Linked DNA regions of Homo sapiens: region 1 is linked to region 2. The links are contacts of gene promoters, found by promoter capture Hi-C in human tissues and cell types (Jung and others, 2019). All regions are on one chromosome and are shown on one strand. Each heading gives the region's core, a stretch centred on a gene start or on the middle of the fragment in contact. The rest is flanking DNA. Distances are from core to core; before and after follow the strand shown. Region 1 has its middle 85 kb from the start of LINC02873. Region 2 holds the start of ADAMTS8 (ADAM metallopeptidase with thrombospondin type 1 motif 8).

Region 1 (3,936 bases), core at 949-3,448, 330 kb before region 2:
CTAGAAATAATTTTATTTCTGTAACAGACATGCGTATCTCTTAGGGTGAAAGTCTAACACCAGCCTGAAAAATCCGAGACTTGGTTTTTAATTCTAGATCTCAACTGGGTGCTCTTTGACAAGTCATCCTCCACACACTTCCTGGGGCACCTCTTAGGAGCCAGCTACGTTGCTTGGTGCAGAAAATTCAGGGGTAACTAAAATACTCTATCCCTGGGCTTCCATTTTATCTGTAAGATAAGAGAACTGGAGAGAAGACATCCAAAATCCTTCCAAAATCCATTTTTCTAGCCAAAGAAGACTAGTCTGGGGAGACGTTATGAAGCAAGTTTTGTTGCCATCTCTATTTCCACTTATTAAAAAGAAAATCAAATCCATGGTTTCAGCCATTTGACATATAGTCATTCTCACCAAAGATAAGTTTTATCTTTTTAAAATATATATACTAGCCATTTGGAAGCTATCACATACAGGAGCTTGTGATTTCCAGGCACTCCATAAATCATTGTATCTTCCCAACTGACATTATCAGGATGTTTCTCAGTTCCATATTTTTGTGCCTGATCAATATTGCTAGGTACTACTATTTACACTCAGTCTTCCTTACCAAATCAGAATATCTCCACTGTTTTTCAAACTAACGTGAACCTCTATTTTAGACAGTACCTGACTGCTAGGAGTTCACATCAAATTCAGGCATACTGATTTAGATACCCAGAAAGGACACACAAAAATCTCAATAGAAGGAGTAAAAGTCAGAGATATATGTTGTAGTAAATGCTTCGTAGGGCAGGCAAACAATCCATTTTGTAGTAACCCAAAGTAAACCAAGGCTAGGCATGTTGAGAAACGAAAAACTGGCAAAGCAAGAATGTACCGGGATTTGCAAAACTATAACAGAGGTATGCAAAGATAAGAAATGGCGATTTCTCATCTTAGTCTTCATGACTGAAGAAAAACATATATGTAGAGGTTTGAGAATTAAGACAAAATCACTGAGATCTGGAAGGGAGGTGGTTAGGACAGAAGAGCACTGGCTTTGTCTTCCAAGAGACCTGGGTTTGAATCCAGCTCTGCTATGTATTTGACATTTTAATATAGACAAGTTATAGGCTTTCCAAACCTTATTTTTTCTTAATAATACTTCATAGGAGTCAGGCCTCTGAGCCCAAGCCAAGCCATCACATGCCCTGTGACTTACATGTATATGCCCAGATGGCCTGAAGTAACTGAAGAATCACAAACAAAGTGAATATGCCCTGCCCCACCTTAACTGATGACATTCCACCACAAAAGAAGTGTAAATGGCCAGTCCTTGCCTTAAGTGAGGACATTACCTTGTGAAAGTCCTTTTCCTAGCTCACCCTGGCTCAAAAAGCACCCCCACTGAGCACCTTGAGACCCCCACTCCTGCCCACCAGAGAACAAACCCCCTTTGACTGTAATTTTCCTTTACCTACCCAAATCCTATAAAACGGCCCCACCCTTATCTCCCTTCGCTGACTCTCTTTTCGGACTCAGCCCACCTGCACCCAGGTGAAATAAACAGCTTTACTGCTCACACAAAGCCTGTTTGGTGGTCTCTTCACACGGACGCGCATGAAATTTGGTGCCATGACTCGGATCAGGGGACCTCCCTTGGGAGATCAATCCCCCGTCCTCTTGTTCTTTGCTCCATGAGAAAGATCCACCTATGACCTCAGGTCCTCAGACCGACCAGCCCAAGAAACATCTCACCAATTTCAAATCCGGTAAGTGGCCTCTTTTTACTCTCTTCTCCAACCTCCCTCACTATCCCTCAACCTCTTTCTCCTTTCAATCTTGGTGCCACACTTCAATCTCTCCCTTCTCTTAATTTCAATTCCTTTCAATTCCTTTGGTAGAGACAAAGGAGACGCATTTTATCCGTGGACCCAAAACTCCGGCGCCGGTCACGGACTGGGAAGGCAGCCTTCCCTTGGTGTTTAATCTTTGCAGGGACGCCTGCCTCGGTCCTTCACCCTTAGCGGCAAGTCCTGCTTTCCTGGGGCAGGGGCAAGTACCCCTCAACCCCTTCTTCACCCTCAGCGGCAAGTCCTGCTTTCCTGGGGCAGGGGCAAGTACCCCTCAACCCCTTCTCCTTCACCCTCAGCGGCAAGTCCCGCTTTCCTAGGGGGCAAGAACCCCCCAATCGCTTATTTCCACACCCCAACCTCTTATCTCTGCGCCCCAATCCCTTATTTCCGTGCCCCAACCCCTTCTCTGCTTTTCTGGAGGGCAAGAACCCCCCACCCCTACTCCATGTCTCTACTCTTTTGTCTGGGCTTGCCTCCTTCACTATGGGCAAGCTTCCACCTTCCATTCCTCCTTCTTCTCCCTTAGCCTGTGTTCTCAAAAACTTAAAACCTCTTCAACTCACACCTGACCTAAAACCTAAATGCCTTATTTTCTTCTGCAATGCCACTTGACCCCAATACAAACTCGACAGTAGTTCCAAATAGCCAGAAAATGGCACTTTCAATTTTTCCATCCTGCAAGATCTAAATAATTCTTGTCGTAAAATGGGCAAATGTTCTGAGGTGCCTGACGTCCAGGCATTCTTTTACACATCTGTCCCTTCCTAGTCTCTGTGCCCAGTGCAACTCGTCCCAAATCTTCCTTCTTTCCCTCCCGCCTGTCCCCTCAGTCCCAACCCCAAGCGTCGCTGAGTCTTTCTAATCTTCCTTTTCTACAGACCCATCTGACCTCTCCTCTCCTCGCCAGCTCAAGCTAAGTCCCAATTCTTCCTCAGCCTCCGCTCCTGCACCCTGTAATCTTTTTATCGCCTCCCCTCCTCACACCTGGTCTGGCTTACAGTTTCATTCCGTGACTAGCCCTCCCCCACCTGCCCAGCAATTTACCCTTAAAAAGGTGGCTGGAGCCAAAGGCATAGTCAAGTTTAACGCTCCTTTTTCTTTATCCCAAATCAGATAGCGTTTAGGCTCTTTTTCATCAAATATAAAAACCCAGCCCAGTTCATGGCTAGTTTGGCAGCAACCCTGAGAGGCTTTACAGCCCTAAACCCTAAAAGGTCAAAAGGCCGTCTTATTCTCAATATACATTTTATTACCCAATCTGCTCCCGACATTAAATAAAACTCCAAAAATTAAATTCCGGCCCTCAAACCCCACACAGGATTTAATGAACCTCGCCTTCAAGGTGTACAATAATAGAAAAAAGTTGCAATTCCTTGCCTCCACTGTGAGACAAACCCCAGCCACATCTCCAGCACACAAGAACTTCCAAACGCCTGAACCGCAGCGGCCAGGCGTTCCTCCAGAACCTCCTCCAGGAGCTTGCTACAAGTGCCAGAAATCTGACCACCAGGCCAAGGAATGCCCGCAGCCCAGGATTCCTCCTAAGCCATGTCCCATCTGTGCAGGACCCCACTGGAAATCGGACTGTTCAACTCACCTGGCAGCCACTCCCAGCGCCCCTGGAACTCTGGCCCAAGGTTCTCTGACTGACTCCTTCTCGGCTTAGCGGCTGAAGACTGATGCTGCCCGATCACCTCAGAAGCCCCCTAGACCATCACGGACGCCGAGCTTCAAGTAACTCTCACAGTGGAGGGAAGTCCGTCCCCTTCTTTATCAATACGGAGGCTACCCACTCCACATTACCTTCTTTTCAAGGGCCTGTTTCCCTCGCCTCCATAACTGTTGTGGGTATTGATGACCAGGCTTCTAAACCTCTTAAAACTCCCCAACTCTGGTGCCAACATAGACAATACTCTTTTAAGCACTCCTTTTTAGTTATCCCCACCTGCCCAGTTCCCTTATTAGGCCAAAACACTTTAACTAAATTATCTGCTTCCATGACTATTCCTAGACTACAGCTATATCTCATTGCTGCCCTTCTTCCCAATCCAAAGCCTCCTTTGCGTCCTCCTCTTGTATCCCCCCCACCTTAACCCACAAG
Region 2 (3,685 bases), core at 787-3,286:
CAGGACCTAACTGCTACTGAAAATCAGGAGTTAGCTGGCACAGTAGCTCACACCTATAATCCCAGCACTTTGGGAGGTTGAGGCAGGCGGATCACCTGAGGTCAGGAGTTGGAGACCAGCCTGGCCAAAATGGTGAAACCCCATCTCTACTGAAAGTACAAAAGTTAGCCAGGTGTGGTGGTGCCTGCCTGCAGTCTCAGCTACTTGGGAGGCTGAGGCAGGAGAATCTCTTGAACCTGAGAGGGAGAAGTTGCTGTAAGCCAAGATCGCACCATTGCACTCCAGCCTGGGTGACAAAGTGAGACTGTGTCTCAAAAAGAGAAAATCAGGAGTTGTACTCTGGGAAACAGCAAATAAGGGGCTTCAAGGAGGTAAAAACCAGTCATTGAACTGTTACAATAGCCCTGAGGCAACACAGAGTTGTATTCATTGCTTGCCCAGGTCAGACTGTCCCAAGCACTGTACAGGATGTCCCAAGCACTGTACACTGTGCTAGGACGAAGTGTTTTGCTTGTTTTGAGAAAAGGGTTGAAGAGACCATTCTTTCCATTGTCCTTCCTCTAGAAGTGTTTCCCCAAAACATTCTAGACTCGTTATTCCTATCCTATAAATTATGCAGGAAAGGAGGTTCTGCACCATGCTAGGTTGGGAAGTTCATCCTTTCATCTAATTCACAGCTGTCCCTCTGTGTTTCTGAGAAAGCAAAGAGAGGGGGGATACTTAGAGGGAATTTGGCAGCACTTTCCCCTGGGCAAGAGCCTCCTCTTTGGAGGTAACAAGCCCTGAGAGTCTCAGATGCATGCTGAACCACCACACTGCAGGAAGGGGTCAGATGGGCTGAAAAGAATCAGCGATGACCTCGACTGTCAACATCCCCAGCATAAGCACAGAGCTGGGTACCTGGGGGCAGGTGAATTGGCAAAGGATTTAAAGGCCCTGATCCCAGCGGTTCCTAATGCATCACCCACATTGACAACTCAGAGAAAGGCACAGTTGGTGGATGAGTCTAGAGTTTGTAGGTAGAGAACAGGGCCCTCCACCCAATCCAGACCTGTGTCATTGAGACTGGGATGGGATGCAGTTTTGTGGTCTTGAGACCATGTCATCCCTCTCTTCCTGAATACTACCCCCTTCCCTAGGGGGCAGTGGTGACATGGGACAGAATAAATTCACCTCATACACATTTGTTCCTGGGGCTGTGGCAACGCAGTGAAAGGGCCTGCCACCTTACTTGAAGTCCCGGGCAACTAGCAGTATCCAGAAGAGAAGACCTTTTTCAGGGACTGGAGGTCTGTTTCCCTCTTGGGGAAATGCTAACTTCCAACCTCAGTGCTGGTAACTTACCACTGTGCTGGCCTCTGCCCCACCTGCCCTCTAACAGGACAGTGAGAGTCCCTCTTAGGGTTAACCAGGTGGGTTGTTTTTTGTTTTGTTTTTGTTTTCCCCATCTTCAGTTTGGAGTGAAAGTTAGGAAGGCTGTGCAGTAGTGATGAGAGGAGGGCATGATTTTAGCATGACCTTTTCCTCCTCTCCCTTTATGCTTTACAATGAAAAGCTCAGGAACCTTCTCCCCACACAGTCGGATCTCCGGAGGCATCTGCAGGGATCCCAACAGTGTCGGGCTCTGCAGTCGGACTCTGCAGGGATCCGAACAGGGTCGCTGAGACCAGTGCACGAGCCTCTTCGGAAGATGCATCCTGGACTCTTGGCCGCAGAGGAGAAAGCGGTTGGGGTCTCCCAGGGACTCTTTCTAAAGGGTCAGTCCAGCATGGTAGGGGTTAACGTGGGTCCACGCGTAGAGGGAAAGGAAAGAAGTTGTAGTTGACACTTCAGGGGGGCGGGTGGCGGACGGGTCTCGCTGCCTGATTGGTTTTGCATTTCATCCCAATTTTTTTTTCTCCACTCTCTCTCCCTCTTTTCAGTTTCTCTCTCTGATCCCAGGGGAGGGGAAACGGGAATAGTGAGAGATCAAAAATAAACCTCTTATGTCAAGCCGGGAAGGAAGTATAAATAAGAAGGGCTCGGCAGCCCACTCGGTGCTTCCCGGGGTGGGGAGGAGGCAGGAGGCGGCTGCGCGGGGCTGGCGCGGGCAGGGGCGGAGGACGGGCGCACGCGGGCCGGGGCCAGCTGCTCGCGCTCGGCTCGGGGGCGGCGGCGCGGGAGGAGCGGGCTGCGCCAGCCAGAGGGGCCGCCGGGGGAGCGCTCCCGCCGCCGGGCCCCGCGGGCCGAGTCGGCCTTGCACCCGATTGATTCCGCTTTTCCTGGAGAGAGCGGCCGGGCCGCGCTCGGGCCGCCAGCACCTGCCCGCGCCTGGCGGGCTTCTTCCCTCTCCTGCGCGCAGCCACCGCCGCAGCCCCCATGCTCCCCGCCCCCGCCGCCCCCCGGTGGCCTCCGCTCCTGCTGCTGCTGCTGCTGCTGCTGCCGCTGGCCCGCGGCGCCCCGGCCCGGCCCGCAGCCGGGGGGCAGGCCTCGGAGCTGGTGGTGCCCACGCGGTTGCCCGGCAGCGCGGGCGAGCTCGCGCTCCACCTGTCCGCCTTCGGCAAGGGCTTCGTGCTGCGCCTGGCGCCCGACGACAGCTTCCTAGCGCCCGAGTTCAAGATCGAGCGCCTCGGGGGCTCCGGCCGGGCGACCGGGGGCGAGCGGGGGCTGCGCGGCTGCTTCTTCTCCGGCACCGTGAATGGGGAGCCCGAGTCGCTGGCGGCGGTCAGCCTGTGCCGCGGGCTGAGCGGCTCCTTCCTGCTGGACGGCGAGGAGTTCACCATCCAGCCGCAGGGCGCGGGGGGCTCCCTGGCTCAGCCGCACCGCCTGCAGCGCTGGGGTCCCGCCGGAGCCCGCCCCCTCCCGCGAGGACCCGAGTGGGAGGTGGAGACGGGAGAGGGTCAGAGGCAGGAGAGAGGAGACCACCAGGAGGACAGCGAGGAGGAGAGCCAAGAAGAGGAGGCAGAAGGCGCTAGCGAGCCGCCACCGCCCCTGGGGGCCACGAGTAGGACCAAGCGGTTTGTGTCTGAGGCGCGCTTCGTGGAGACGCTGCTGGTGGCCGATGCGTCCATGGCTGCCTTCTACGGGGCCGACCTGCAGGTAGGACTGAGAGCCTCCTCCAGCCGCCGTGCCCGGAGGCCCCCCAGACGCCTCCCAGCGTCTCTAAAATCTCCCCTTCCAATCCCTCTGAGAAAAAAAAAAAAAAAAAAAAAAAGCCCTCCCCACTCATCTTCTCCAGCCTTACCCCAAACGAGATTCTCTCCTGTCTGAGAAAGAGCAGTAACTCTTTTCTGAACTTCTGCCACCCTGGATCCCTGCGCCCCCACCCCCAGGTCCCTTCCAGTTTAGAGTGGGGCTGCCGACGCCCATCCCTCTCATCCGAATCTCCCGCGGCACGTGGCGCACTGACCCGAAAGTGGGTATCAACGCATTCCCCGGCACCTGCCTCTCCCAGCAGAGATGAAAATTGAGCGTTTACGAATAGCTCCCACTCCCACCCCTCAGCCCTCTACTGCCTCCAGATCTGAGAGGCTCCCAGGGAAAGGCAGATGGGATGGAGAGAGATGGCTGTCTGATTCCCTTGGGTATGGAGGTCGCCATAAGCAAAAGACATTGTTTGAAAGGAGCTGAACCTGGAGAGGGGCTGCCCAACTTCTGTGCAGCCAGCTGGTTGTGATCAATGGGGCATGGACTACCTTGCCAACCT

The links. Contacts are between HindIII fragments. The study calls those that stand out against the background at their distance.
Region 1: a fragment that was not itself captured here is called in contact with the fragment with the promoter of ADAMTS8 in region 2 in 1 of the 25 tissues and cell types used here (liver).

What each region holds. Positions count from the first base shown.
Region 1 is chr11:130,756,355-130,760,290 of GRCh38, reverse strand. No RefSeq gene overlaps it. Among named protein-coding and RNA genes, the nearest start is that of LINC02873, 85 kb to the right of the region's middle. RefSeq lists an enhancer at 1,033-1,621. The HindIII fragment of the contact is 6,683 bases long and covers 1-3,936 here.
Region 2 is chr11:130,426,960-130,430,644 of GRCh38, reverse strand. It overlaps ADAMTS8 (ADAM metallopeptidase with thrombospondin type 1 motif 8), which reads left to right and starts at 2,036. Exons shown (of 9, transcript NM_007037.6): 1 at 2,036-3,078. The coding sequence starts at 2,359. The HindIII fragment of the contact is 15,783 bases long and covers 1-3,685 here.